Linked DNA regions of Homo sapiens: all the other regions are linked to region 4. Evidence: promoter capture Hi-C in 16 types of primary human blood cells and fetal thymus (Javierre and others, 2016). All regions are on one chromosome and are shown on one strand. Each heading gives the region's core, a stretch centred on a gene start or on the middle of the fragment in contact. The rest is flanking DNA. Distances are from core to core; before and after follow the strand shown.

Evidence for each region. The method cuts DNA at HindIII sites, captures the fragments that hold promoters and counts their contacts. A CHiCAGO score of 5 or more calls a contact.
Region 1: a contact is called between the fragment with the promoter of ANAPC4 here and the fragment with the promoter of LAP3 in region 4, in 2 of 17 cell types (total CD4 T cells and activated CD4 T cells). The highest score is 8.6, in total CD4 T cells.
Region 2: a contact is called between a fragment that was not itself captured here and the fragment with the promoter of LAP3 in region 4, in 1 of 17 cell types (non-activated CD4 T cells). The highest score is 5.8, in non-activated CD4 T cells.
Region 3: a contact is called between a fragment that was not itself captured here and the fragment with the promoter of LAP3 in region 4, in 2 of 17 cell types (neutrophils and activated CD4 T cells). The highest score is 7.8, in neutrophils.
Region 5: the fragment with the promoter of SEPSECS here is called in contact with the fragment with the promoter of LAP3 in region 4 in 2 of 17 cell types (non-activated CD4 T cells and total CD8 T cells); the score reaches 6.5 in non-activated CD4 T cells.

What each region holds. Positions count from the first base shown.
Region 1 is chr4:25,375,922-25,378,621 of GRCh38, reverse strand. It overlaps ANAPC4 (anaphase promoting complex subunit 4), which reads right to left and starts at 1,359. Exons shown (of 29, transcript NM_013367.3): 1 at 1,278-1,359; 2 at 1,066-1,204. The coding sequence starts at 1,194. RefSeq lists enhancers at 957-1,026, 1,057-1,116 and a silencer at 1,237-1,656. The HindIII fragment of the contact is 5,076 bases long and covers 1-2,700 here.
Region 2 is chr4:24,588,463-24,591,162 of GRCh38, reverse strand. It overlaps LOC124900682 (a long non-coding RNA gene), which reads left to right. Exons shown (of 2, transcript XR_007058078.1): 2 at 1,758-2,576. Among named protein-coding and RNA genes, the nearest start is that of DHX15, 5.3 kb to the right of the region's middle. The HindIII fragment of the contact is 1,128 bases long and covers 784-1,911 here.
Region 3 is chr4:10,103,917-10,106,616 of GRCh38, reverse strand. It overlaps WDR1 (WD repeat domain 1), which reads left to right. Exons shown (of 15, transcript NM_017491.5): 3 at 2,631-2,700. Among named protein-coding and RNA genes, the nearest start is that of WDR1, 12 kb to the left of the region's middle. The HindIII fragment of the contact is 1,084 bases long and covers 784-1,867 here.
Region 4 is chr4:17,575,748-17,578,447 of GRCh38, reverse strand. It overlaps LAP3 (leucine aminopeptidase 3), which reads right to left and starts at 1,250. Exons shown (of 13, transcript NM_015907.3): 1 at 881-1,250. The coding sequence starts at 982. RefSeq lists enhancers at 703-902, 1,243-1,602 and a silencer at 973-1,182. The HindIII fragment of the contact is 2,285 bases long and covers 268-2,552 here.
Region 5 is chr4:25,159,036-25,161,735 of GRCh38, reverse strand. It overlaps SEPSECS (Sep (O-phosphoserine) tRNA:Sec (selenocysteine) tRNA synthase), which reads left to right and starts at 1,287. Exons shown (of 11, transcript NM_016955.4): 1 at 1,287-1,480; 2 at 2,629-2,700. The coding sequence starts at 1,367. SEPSECS-DT (SEPSECS divergent transcript) reads right to left here and starts at 1,064. Exons shown (of 2, transcript NR_037934.1): 1 at 983-1,064. RefSeq lists an enhancer at 1,024-1,323 and a silencer at 1,434-1,603. The HindIII fragment of the contact is 2,962 bases long and covers 346-2,700 here.

The DNA.
Region 1 (2,700 bases), core at 110-2,609, 7.8 Mb before region 4:
TTCACTGAGAAAATGGATGTAACAGTGCCCTCTATCACGCCTACCCATCTGATTGCACGGATGTGCCTCCCGTCTACCTTCCCTCCTACTTCTGTGACGGTACCACCTGCTGCTCTCTAGAGCCACAACAGAGTTTCAAAGCATCCCGGCAGCGGAGGGAGACTAGCTAGATTTCATGGAGGGCCCTGAAAAATTAGACATCAATACCCTGGCGACTGGATCATGGTAGATAACATGGTGCAGACTACAGTCTGCAGGGTGCTAAGATTTCCTTATCACCTAGTTTCCAAATTTGGCTCTATACAACTCTCACATGGCCAGATAACTCTCAAGCCAGAGGCGGAAAGATGCACAGGTGAAGGTTTCCTTACAAAATGGCTGGCAGGTAATAACTCTCAGCAGAAAGTTGGGTACAACTGGTTTATACTCGATGAAGTTTTATGTGAACAAGAAATGCTGATAACACCCATGCACGTTCTGTCTGGAATCCAATGCATGCCTTCCTTGTCCAATTTAGAGGTATTTTTAGTGGAGGGTGGTTATCCAACCCGTACTATAAAACGTGGACAAGAGAAGCCAGGTTCTTAAATATATCCTGTGTGGCAGCTACATGCAGGCACATTTGCAGCTGAAGTTTGACAATAACTCTTCCTACTGCTATTAAAACTGTAAGCAAACTTAGGGCAGGGTCCCTGCATCTACCATTATGTCTAGCTCATGAGCAGCACATAGTGGGCTTTTTTAAAAAGTTCATTTAACTAATAAACCAATGAGTGAAGAAGACTTGGGGAAGCAGGATTGCGTGACGGTGTTAAGCTGTGTGAAAACTGTTACTTTAGCCATAAAAGTACCGAAAATAGCACAGACATCACCTTTCGCATATATACTTAAAGTTTACTGCCGTCCTGGGAGGCAGGGAAGGGGTAGCAGGTGGCCAGCCATGTCTGCAGAAGGGGAAACTGAGGCTCCGGCCGCCTGTGGCCCGAATGAACAGGCTCGGGCTCGGTGTTCTTGGGCCCCCCGGGAGCAGACCCAGCACAGGCGGGCTCCCGCCGGCTCACTCACCTCGCCAGCTGTGTTGGCCAAAGCAATGAGATCCCGCTTGGGCGACCAGACCAGGAAAATAATCTCCTGCGGGAGCTGCTTCTCTCCCACCACCCGGAAGGATGGGAAACAGGTCGGAAAACGCAACATGGGGACGGCCCTGCAACGACACCCCAGTCAGAGGCCGGCAGGAGCCCCCGGCTCTCCACGAGGAGCCCCGACCGCGCCTGTACCTGCAAGAGTCCCCACCGGCAGACTAACACGGCCCCAGTGGCCTCTCCCCTCCCTCTGCCGGCCGCGCGCCACAGCCTCCAGGCCGCCCCGCCCCGCCGCTGTCGCGCGCTCCAGGCACTTCCGGCGTCGGGACTGCCTCGCGAGAGGAGGAGGAGGGGCGGGGCGCGCACCGGTCTTGGGGGTGCTGAGAGCCAGAAGGGGCGGACAGGGACGGGGCGCGGTGGGCGGGGCAGGGAGGAGCGAGGGGCGGATCGAGGTGGGGGTAGGATGGGGCCCGTGGGCGGGGCAGGGAGCAGCGATGGGGCAGAGCTAGGAAGGGTGGGGCACGCGGGCGGGGCAGGGAGCCCCGAGGGGCGCGGAGAGGGAGGGAGCCGCGCGCCGGACCCAGGTGCTGGTGGGATCGCTGGGCGCCGGGACCTGAAAGGGCCCGAGAAGGGCGGGGCAGGCCCCTGCGGCCACACGCAGGTCTTTTGGGAACCCGTGTGTGCACGTGTGTGGGCATGCTTGCATACCTTTCCCGTTTTCCCGGAAATTCTCTGCTGTGGGCAAAGGGACGGTAGGGGTTTATGGGGTAGGCTTCAGCGACAACGGGGAGATGAAAAAGAATATGAACTTTAGGTCCTGATCAGCTGGCGCCTCCTCTAACAGTTACTAAGCGAGTAGTTCTCATGTCAGTCCTGGTGGGTCAGTATAGAATTTTAAAAGTCCCCCTGTCCAAGCAGCACCCCAAACCAATTAGAAGAAAATTAACCCTGGATGGGCCCAGTATTTACTAAAACTCTTTGGGTGATTCCAATTTGGAGAGAAGAGGCGCGTGCCCTAAAACCTCCCTAACAGGCAAATAATACTGTGACATCTCATCCCATTTAACCCTCACAACTTATTGGTAGTTGCAGCACCGTCATAACGAATAAAGAGTGTGGGCTCAGGGCCGGGCGCGGTGGCTCACGCCTGTAATCCCAGCACTTTGGGAGGCCGTGGCGGACGGATCACAAGGACAGGAGATAGAGCCCATCCTGGCTAACATGGTGAAACCCCGTCTCTACTAAAAAATACAAAAAAGTAGCCAGGCATGGTGGCGGGCACCTGTAGTCCCATCTACTGGGGAGGCTGAGGCAGGAGAATGGCGTGAACCCGGGAGGCGGAGCTTGCAGTGAGGCGGAGCTTGCAGTGAGGCGGGGCTTGCAGTGAGGCGGAGCTTGCAGTGAGCCGAGATTGTGCCACTGCACTCCAGCCTGGGCAACAGAGCCAGACTCCGTCTCTAAAATATAAAAAAAGAGTGTGGGCTCACACACGATTTCTTCTATAGGTACTTGGGCATTTACTATGTGGAGGAACTGAGGCTACAGCAATGCATGGGACGGGAACTCTGCCCAGAGGCTCACAGGCCAGCCTGGCAGACTTGTAAATCAGAACTCATCT
Region 2 (2,700 bases), core at 98-2,597, 7.0 Mb before region 4:
GATAAATAACTTCCAGCCTTTCATTATCTCTCCCCAAAATATTAATTCTACTTAGCAATAGCCATCAAATTCTAGGGAGCTTATAGTTACCAGTTCCCCCATATGTGAGAACTGCATGCCTTTTGCAGTACACCACATGCTTTTTTCCCAGTAAGCTACAGGTGAAAGTTTTAACAATTGCCCTGCTTCCTTGTGTCCTACCTCCACCACAGATTCATTGCCAGCCAGCAATGGGTGACCAACTCCAAAATCCAATCATAATGTCTGCTTTCTTTCTGGCACCACTTCTGGCACCAAATCTTTTAGGTCGGCTTCCATGAAAACTAGACTCTGAGGCAAAGATTAGCATTTAGAATGTTTATTAAGAAGTACATTTAGGATCAATATCAGTGGAAAGAAAAGATAAAAGTAGAATCAGATAAGGAAAAGTTGACTGTGATGCTGTTGCATGACAATGAATTTGACTGGCCTTTATCCCTGGTTCACGGGATTGGTTCATTTTAAATCCTTGGGGTCTCCCAAGTCATAAGAGTATCTTTGTTGCTCTCTTTAGTGAATATGCAGTGACTTCCTGGTTTGTGTATCCTGGTTTATATATTCCCTTTATTCTCTTTATGTATTCCCTTTATTCTCTTTAGGTTTATGTATTCCCTTTATTCCCTAAAGAGTTACTCTCTTTATGTTGGGCCCTTGGACGACATCTGAATTAGTGCTAAGGAGATAACTCAGGATGGGAACTGGTCATCCCAGAAAGACCAACCATGTGATTAAAGGGTTGAAGCTTTGAGCCACATGTTATCAGCCCAATCTCTTGACCTTTAAGCAGGGAAAGGAGGCTGGAAATTGAGTTGAATCATGGAGCCAATGATTCAGTCAATCAATCATGGCTACATAATGAAACCCCAATAAAAACTGCAGACACTGAAGCTCAGTGGAACATCCTAGTTTGTAAGGACATGGATGTGAGGGAGGGTCACATGTTCTAATTCCATGGGGAGAGGACACAGACGCTCTGATTTGTTTCCTTTATAATAAAACAGCAACCATAAGTATAGTGCTTTCCTGAGTTTTATAAGTTATTCTAGTAAATTATCAAATATGATGGAATTGTGAGAAACTCTGAATTTGTAGCCAGTTGGGCCGGAGTGCTGGTGGCCTGCAGACCCCTGAACTTATGGATGGTGTCTGGAGTGGGGACATCTTCAGTCTTGCTTGGGACTGTGGCCTTAACTTGTGGGATTGGAGGTAACTCTGGATTGTTACTGGCCAAATTGCATTGGGGTACATCAGATGCCATTATAACAAAGACTTCAGCTGATCCCACAGAGGGTTCAGATGCTCTGAAGCTCACAGTTGTCCTAAGTTGGTAGACAGGCCAAGCCTTTATACCTGTAGAATGTATTCAGGCTGCCCCTGGGCATGGCAGCTTTCTTTAGCCATGGAAGTTTCTGAAGAGGGCTGACACGAGGATCGTGTGCAGGTGGCAAGCACTCCCAGAGCTGAGGGATGTCTCATTATGAAAGTGAGATTTTGATGGCAAGCCATAGCACCACTATAGTTTGTAACTATTTCTGTCTCTTACTAGAGAGAGGATAAGGTGATTAAAAATAGTACTGAAAATTCTTTCAAATTTGTAAGCATTTTGTTGCTAAAGAGGATTCAAAGAGGGAGACTGGTGGATTGATCCTGGCAAATCCTCATGAGTGATCATGTTGTTTTCCCACTTAAATCTCATTTCTGTTTTCCTCTTGTTTTAGGAAGGATAAAGGCTTACCTCCTCAGCAGGACTCCTCAGATGGGGCATGATATGCCCTGTTCTTGCATCTGCAGGATCACAGATGACAAATTCCTCATCTCAACACATCCATGTTGTTTTCTCTGTCTGTGGGTCGCACCTGACTTTTTAAAGCTTCAGGGCCTTTGCACAGGCTGTTTCCTCTGCTTGGAATGCTTTCTGCCCTCTCTGCCTGGACAATTTGCATTCTTTTTTTTTTTTTTTTTGAGATGGAGTTTTGCTCCTGTTGCCCAGGCTGGAGGGCAATGATGTGACCTTGGCTCACCGCAACCTCCGCCTCCTGGGTTCAAGCAATTCTCCCACCTTAGCCTCCCGAGTAGCTGGGATTACAGGTATGCACCACTATGCCCGGCTAATTTTGTATTTTTAGTAGAGATGGGGTTTCTCCATGTTGGTCAGGCTGGTCTTGAACTCCTGACCTCAGGTGATCTGCCTGCCTTGGCCTCCCAAAGTGCTGGGATTGCATTTATTTTTAAGGTTTTTGTCTAAATGTTTCTTTCTCAGAGAGGCATTCCCTAACCCTCAATGTAGATCAAGGCCACTTGTTATATGCTCTCACAATGCCTGTCGTCTGTAGCTGGCCTTTTCAGCACTTATCATCGTGATAACAACATAGTTATTTATGTGTTTAGCTGTTCAGTGCCTGTCTCTCTCCCTCTGCCACGTTTTATGAAGGCAAGAACTATGGCTATTTTCTTCTTTCCTCTTTCCCCAGCACTTAATGCCTGACATGGGAGCTTAATACATATTTGTTGATTGAATAAATAAATGGTAATAGTGATACTGTACAATGGTCAATAGTGCGGCTCTAGAGTTGGACTGGGTTCAAATAATCCAAATCCCCACTTGTCCACTGAGAGTTCTGTAAACTAGTTCTCTACATGGACAATGCAGAAGTTTTATCA
Region 3 (2,700 bases), core at 76-2,575, 7.5 Mb after region 4:
GCCCAGGCATCTTCCATCTCTGGATGCCCTCCCCAGCGGAAGGCCCATGGGAGCCCCACCCTTTCTACGGCAGCACGGCCTGGGGAGGAGGTCGTCCAGGCTGGGAGAGCCCACGAGGCCATCTGTCTGGCGGGATGGGCAGGTGCCCCTGTATGTGAGCGTGAGACCTCCCCCATCCCCAGTCAGCTGTGAGTGTACACCGAACAGGGTCTTGGAGGGGCTGCCTGTTAAGTGGATCATTTTCTTGCCAGGTGCTTTGGGTAGGGATGTGTCAGTGTCAGAATATGAAGGACTAATTGGAGTGGGAGAGGGTTGGATTGGGCAGACATTTAATAAATAGCCAGCATCTTAGTTTTATTGAGGTGTACTTTAGATACAGTAGAATTTGTCTGTATTCAGTGTGTGGCTTGGATCTTGACAGATGACCTATATAGTCCCATAAGCACCACCCCTGTCATGACAGAACATTCCTGTCACTCCGGAGGGTGCCCCCCGCCCCCGCCACCCCTTCCACCCTCACCCCCAGCAGCTGCTTATCTGCTTTCTGTCATTGGGGTTGCCTTTTCTAAAATCTTCTTTCATATGAAGTGAGAGGCAATGTGTAGTCTTTTCTGTCTGGCTTTTTCACTTTGCATAACATGTTGGCGATTGATAGCTGGTGTTGAGTGCATTTGCACTTTGTTCCTTTCTATCACTAAGCAGTGCGGTGTGTTGCCTGTTTCTCTGTTCACCTGTTGATGGATATTTGGGTATTTCCAGTTTTTGGCCATTGCAAAGAAAGCTTCTGTGAACATTGCTCCTGTGTCTTTTGGTGGACACATGCTTCCATTTCTCCAGGGCAGATACCTAGGAGTGGGGTTGCTGGTGTTTGGTGTGAGTAGTGTCTGTTTAGGTTTATAAATAACCTGCCCAACTCTTTTCCAACTGTACCATTTTGCATTTCCACCAGCAGTGTGAACATTCCAGTGTCCCCACCCCTCTACCCTTGCCAGCACTTGGTGATGTCAGTCTTTTCTTTTTATTGATTCTAGTGAGTATGGAGTGGTATTCTGTTGTAGTTTTGACTTGCATTTCCCAAGACTAATGACACTGAGCGCTTTTTCATGTGCTTACTTGTCATTCGTAGTATCTTCTTTGGATAGACACCTTGATACATTCTAATTTCACTGGCGAACGATTATCCCAAAATGGATTAATTTATGACTGGTGTCTATTATATCACATAATGCTGTGTTAAGTCTTAGGGATGAAAGAGAAGGTCTGTGTGTACTTCTTTTTTTCTCCCCCAAACCACTTATTGAGATGGCTAGTGAGATAAAGGTCATGTTAAGCAGGGCACAGCAGAGTTGGAGGAGATGGACAGGAATGCTAGGGACTATGATGTGTGTTGTGCCATCCCGGTGGACATGTTAAATGATCTGGAAGCACAGAAGAGTTGATACGGATAGCTTGGGCCATACTTGGAGGCTTCATGGAGGAGGGAACGCTTCCGTTAGGCCTGATGGGTGAGTGGGTGTCCGTAGGCAGGGAGAGGTGCTGGCCAAGGGCACAGACTACACACAGACGTGGAGCTTAAACAGGATGGCAGAAGGTGGGCAGGAATCAGGGTCTGTACTTCTGTGGTCTCAGTCTCGTGAGATGGGGGCCCCTCAGGTCTTGAGGAGGGGTCTAAGGGAGATGAGGGGTGGGGTGGCAGCAGGTGGGGTCATGCTAGGGGTGCCCGGGCACCCTCACAGGAGTCTGGTGTGTCCTAAGCCTCAAGCTGGCGGGAAGCTGCCTCTTTCAAAGAGCACTTGGTTTGTAAAAAGCTGACAGTAGGTAGCAGAGATTAGATGGCCATGTCTTTATTCCCTCCTGAAAGAAAGCTTCACTGTGGAGACAGATTGAGAGCAGCCCAGTGTGTGTGTGTGTTTCTGTTTCACTGAGGCCCTGCGTGTGTGTGTATGCCGGGAGGGAGGCGCAGGGATCTACTTTTAGCACATTACATGTTGAAACCTCATTGCTGAAGATGCTTCTAGTCTCAAATGTTGGCCCCATTTTTGCCACAAAGTCCACCCAGCCTTTGATCTGTGCTATGCAAGGGAGTGGGGAATCGACTTTCCTTTCCAAACCCAAGTTTTTGATAGAGAGGGCTCCCACAGCGTGTCCTGCTCTGCTCCTGCACAGCACAGCCAGGCGCTGAGTTTGGGGTCCAACATTGATTGGCAGCCAGGAGAGCTGGTCCTAAACACGGAAGAGAACAGAGCGCTGGAATGAATGCAGCTTCCCACAAATGGGAGGGATTAGAACCAGGGCTTCTTGCTCTAATCCACCTTTTGTGTATCTGTTTCACTGATATATTTGTTCTGTATTATGGAAAGTACAGAAAAGCAGAAAAGGAAAAAAATCACCTTGTTGTACAGTCATAGACTAAGGAGAACGAATTAAAGTAACATGAAATTCTATCACCCAGAGATAGGTAGGCAGGCAGTAGATACGTAGGCAAGTGGTATGCTTCTGCGGTTTTCTTCACGGTTTTAGCTTCAGTGTTTCTTTGTACACCCCTTTCACCCCATATCTGTTGATGTGGAGAGCTGGAAGCTTGACTGCTTCTCCATTCCTTCTGTTCATTCCGGGGTCTCCTCCTGCAGAACCCAGCCCTTGCTGACATCTACACAGAGCACGCCCATCAGGTGGTGGTGGCCAAGTATGCGCCCAGCG
Region 4 (2,700 bases), core at 1-2,500:
CACCAAAGAAAACGGCCTTCCTTGGCATTGGTAACTCTGCCAGGTTCTAACTTCCCTAAGATTGTTCACTCCCCGGGAATCAATGGAGCCAACTGAGCAACTGTTATCTGGGTAGGCTGTGGCACAGTACTGGAGATAGCACTGGTCAGGCGACTGGTCCCTCCACCACTGAGATACCTGCAGGAGACTGGAGCTCAAGCTCCCCCTAGAACGTTCTTCTGCAGGGACAGTCATCTCTTTCTGGTGCTTAGGCATGACTCCCAAGCTTGTGCTGGTTCCGAGAGCCATTCCCTTTGCAGATCCTTCACATCTGAAGAGCGACCTTCGTAATTTTTTGGAGTTCACTTTTCTTCTGGAAGATGCTCTTAATTCTGGGAAACGTGGGTCTCTCCCCAAAGCCCTTTTCTCTAGAGAGGCATGCTTTTCCTCTAGAAACCCTTCCAAGCTACTTAACTCCCTGACCTTTCACTTCCGCGGGGGAAGGAGCCCTGTGACTCTGGGACCTCAGAAACCCTTTCACCTTGGCAAACTCGGGCTTCCTCCAAGCTCGGATGGGAGCCCCACCGCCGCGTCTTTCCCCGGGTTACTGCCAGGACCGCGGGTGACGACTGGAGCAAGTGCGCGGCCGAGTGGAGCCGGGTAAAGGGCGGCTACAACCATCACCCCCTAGCCCCGAGCAGGGGAATCGCGCCCTCAATACGACCGCTGGGGTCCTCAGCGGCCTAGGCCGATCCCCGCAAGGAGAGAATTTTTCTTTTAAACTGATTTTTGCAACTTGGCTTGGGCGCCCAGGACACCGCGGCTTCGACCAGCCCCGCAGCCCCAGTAGCCCACGGGCAGGGCCCCAGCGGCGGACCATGAGCGAGCCGCCGCCTCTCACCTTCGTCATGTCTGCGGTGGAGAGACTCCGGCTCCCGAAACGTCTCACGGCCAGACGTCGGACGACTACTCGCCCCGCAGCCGGAAGAGGCAGCAAGAACATCTTGTCGGCTCGGCCCCTCGCACCGCCCTCCAGCGAGCACGTGGAGAGCGGTGGGCGGGCGCGCCTTGGGGCGGGGCTTTCGGGGCGCAGACGGCGTGCGCGCGGACTGGCTCGGGCGCCGGGCGAGCGGACGTGCGTCTAGGGGGCGGGACGGATGGGCAGCACCGGCCGACTGGACCGCTGGGATCAAACCGCGGTTGTGGAGGGGACTCAAGGGTGCGCCCGCATTCGTGTGCGCCCGCATTCGTGTGCGCCCGCATTCGTGTGCGCCCGCGCATGCGGGCGGGGGCGAAAAGGCGGGGCTTCCGGACGCGGTTGACAGTCCCGGGAGCAACGCGAAGTAGAGGGGCGGGACCGATATGGTGACGTCACACGATGGGTGGGGCGGAGGCGGGGCGAGTTCTGCAAGCGGGCGTGGGCGGAGCGCTGGGCAACTCCCGGGAAATAGAAACTGAGTGCCAGAGCTTGTTGTCAAGGTTGCTGAATAGACGACTGCATAGTGAAGACACTCCCACTGAGTTTTCGTTTGTTTGTTTGGTTTTTTTGAGTCGGAGTCTCGCTCTGTCACCCAGGTTGGAGTGCAATGGAGCGATCTCGGCTCACTGCAACCTCCCGCTGCTTAGTTGAAACGATTCTCCTGCCTCGTCCTCCCGAGTAGCTGGGATTAGGGGCGCCCGCCACCACGCCCAGCTAATCTTTGTGTTTTTTTGTTGTTTTTTTGGATTTTTTTTTTGAGGCGGAGTCTCGCTCTTGTAGCCCTGGCTGGAGTGCAGTGGCGCAATCTCGGCTCACTGCAACCTCCGCCTTTCGGGTTCAACAGATTCTCCTGCCTCAGCCTCCCGAGTAGTTGGGACTACAGGCGCCCACCACCACACCTGGCTAATCTTTGTATTTTTAGTAGAGACAGTGTTTGGCCATGTTAGCCAGGCTGGCTTTGAACTCCTGACCTCTGGTGATACACCCGCCTCAGCCTGCCAAAGTGCTGGGATTACTTACAGGCGTGAGCCACCGTGCCCGGCAACTCTTTGTATTTTTAGTAGAGACGAGGTTTCACCATGTTGTCCAGGCTGGTCTCGAAGTCCTGACCTCGTGATCCACTTGCCTCGGCCTCGCTAAGTGCTGGGATTACAGGCGTGAGCCACCGCACCTGGCCTGAGTTATTTTTATTCGTGTCCTTTCATCTGTTCCACAGGTGCAACGGTGTAAATACTGTTTTTGAAAATGATGTAACACTATTAGGTTCGTTGACTCGTGCACATAGCAAGTCAATACGCCCAGACACCAGGGTTGCAGCAGAGAAAGAGGTGTAATCGTGGAGTCGCCAAAGGAGGAGATGGGAGGAAACCTCAAATCCATCTCCCTGAGGAATTTGGGGTCAAGGTTTTTAAGGGTTTTGGAGAGGGCTATAGTGTGGAGATCGTTGATTGAAGAGTGCAGGGTGAAGTCATGGGACAGGGCGTTGAAGAACCTGTATTCTTAAGCTGACCCCATTCCTCTCTGGGGATCTTCAAACTGGTAGCTGGAATTCAAGGTCTGAAAAATATCTTAAGCGATCCTTAAACAGAAAGCTTATGATTCTAATGTCAGAGATCCTGTCTATAGGAACAATGGGAATGCAAATGGTCAGTATGTAGTGCTAGGTGACTTTTAGCAACAAGGAAGTGGGCCAAAGTACAGCCTGATTAATGCTTAATTATAACTATATTTCTGCCTAGAAC
Region 5 (2,700 bases), core at 38-2,537, 7.6 Mb before region 4:
GTTCCTATGCCGGCTGTGCAGAAACAGACCAGTATTCCGACAGCAGGCTTGCAGCAGAGAAAGTTTTAATAATCACAAGTTACAAGCCAGGAAACAGGAAGAGTTCTCAAGCTTCAATCCATTTCATCAAGGGGTTCTAGGCAAAGTTTTTTAAGGGGATTTGTGGAGGGTGAGGGGCTGGAAAATTTGGGGTTATCGATTCGTTGGGGTAAGGGAGATGAAATCATTAGGATGTGACAATTGCATTCCTCCATGAATCAGCTTTTTATTGGGCCTTCCAGACAAGTTGGCGTCCTTAGTTTTGTTGGTATGCGGGACCTAAAGAAGCAATGCAAACAGAAAGCTTATCTTCTCATAATGTCTTAGATTTTATCTTCAGAGCAGAAAAAGAATGAAGAGTCTTGTGACAAGGGCCACATTCTCCTGGGGTAGTAAGTAGCAACCAGCTACAAGAAAGTCGGCCACACTGCAAGCTGGCTTAATAACAGCAGCTGTAAGCCTAGTTGGATTTTTTTCCCCTCCTTAATCAATTTTACAAAATGTTCTTGGGGATAGTTTCAGAATGGTCAAACTAATTCATTAATTCAATATCAACTTTTTTTTTAGGCCCTACTTTATTCTGGGCACTGTTTTAGGTGCCCGGGGGAAGGGGGCACCGCAGCAAAAACCGAGGTCCTGCCGTTAGGTTAGAGAGTTTACATTCATGGGTATGGGTGTGTGTGTGTGTGTGTATAAACAAACGTCTGGCATGTCACGTGGTGAGTAGTAAGTGCTATGGCTAAACAGTAGTGTCAAGGGGAAAATGAGTGGGGCACTGCTATTTCCTATGGGGTTGTGAGGCAGTAATAAGTGTGGAAATGTATCAAAGTAAAGATCGAAGGTTCTGGCATCTGACAGTTTGAATAAGGCGGAAGCACAGACCCTGCACAGATCTCAACCATCCAACAGGACTGAAACACAGAACTTGGAAAAACCCACGTACCTGCTTCTTACTCTGCTCGCCCGGTCTGCACAAGTGCAAAATCCTTTCCTGAAGTTTGTGTCAGGAACACCAGGGTTTAACTAGACGAATCAGCCGCAGCGGGGCGGGGCTAATTTCAGTCCTTCCTTTGCCAAAAGTCAGCGAAAAGCGCGGACTCCCTCGCGCATGCTCAAATACGCCAACTTCCTCCTGGAGCGCCATCTGAGAAGGTCTGCGCATGTGCACGAACGAGAAGTGTTTTTTTTGTTTTGTTTTGTTTTGTTTTGTTTTTTGTCCCAAGGCGCTGCCGTACCGTCCAGGCGGCGAGTTGCATTCTGGTTCCGTCGTGTGTCTGGCGTGTGGAGCTAGTGCTCCCGCTTATTCGCCACTGTCGCCACCGCTGTCATGAACCGCGAGAGCTTCGCGGCGGGAGAGCGGCTGGTGTCGCCGGCTTACGTGCGGCAGGGCTGTGAGGCCCGCCGCTCGCATGAGCACCTCATACGGCTGCTTCTGGAGAAGGTACCGAGCTGTCGGTCCCCTCCCCAGCCGCCGCGACCCCGGGGCTCTGGCTCCGCCGGGCGTCCCCGCTGGTGCTGCCTCACCGGCAGCTCTTCGCTGCTTGAGACTAGTCCCAAGTCTGTCTCAGCTTGGCTTGCCCTAGCTGACCGACTGCGGTCTGTGCCTTCTCAGCCTTGCCAAAGCCAGTGAAAGCCAAATGGTGTTGTTAGGAGGGGGTGTTGGGGTCGGGGTTTTGAGTCCCGCTGTTTCTAACTTCGGGATGCGGAAGTGAGGGAAAGTCCCAGTGTACTTTTTTATTCGCGGAAAGGGCAAAGTTCGCACCTCCATCTTTCACCAACCCTCAACGACTCAGAACACATAATGGTGTTTGTAGACTGTATGCTAACTCGAACCACGAGCTTTCCGCGGAACTTCACAGGTCTCCCTCCTGCCAGCGTTCATGTATTTTAATTTCATTAAAAGTTTTGTTGTGTTTTGTTTTTTTGAAACAGAGTCTCGCTCTTTCGCCCAGGCTGGAATGCAGTGTGACGATCTCGGCTCACTGCAGCCTCCGCCTCCCGGGTTCACGCCATTCGCCTGCCTCAGCCTCCCGAGTAGCTGGGACTACAGGCGCCCGCCACCACACCCGGTTAATGTTTGTATTTTTAGTAGAGATGGGGTTTCACCATGTTGGCCAGGCTGATCTCAAACTCCTGACTTCAAGTGATCGGCCATTCTTGGCCTTCCAAAGTGCTCGGATTACAGGCGTGAGTGAGCTACAGCGCGTGGCCAAAATTTCACTGAAGTTTGACAACTACCGCCCTTCTCCACGTCCCACCGCCCCAGTCGTAACGCCCTGGTTTGAAGCATCTTCACTGGGGATGTGTTGTATTGGTTTTCAGTTAGTTTCACTTACGGAAATTTAAATATCTCAGTAAACCTCATTGTATGCATTTATCATCACTTCTCGAAATCTGTAAATAATTGTAATCAAATGTACAAACGTTTTGCCTCTTTGCGGTCTCTATACAGTGGTGAATTTATGCTTGAATTTTAGAAAACAAGCAGCGTGGCAAAATACACGTTAAAAAGAAAAACTGTATTCCTGTAGTATTCTAGAGAACGGTAGTTTTATTAAATATAATCATAAGTTTTTTTTTTTTTTTAAGGGCAAGTGTCCAGAGAATGGCTGGGATGAAAGTACACTTGAACTCTTTTTACATGAACTTGCAATCATGGAC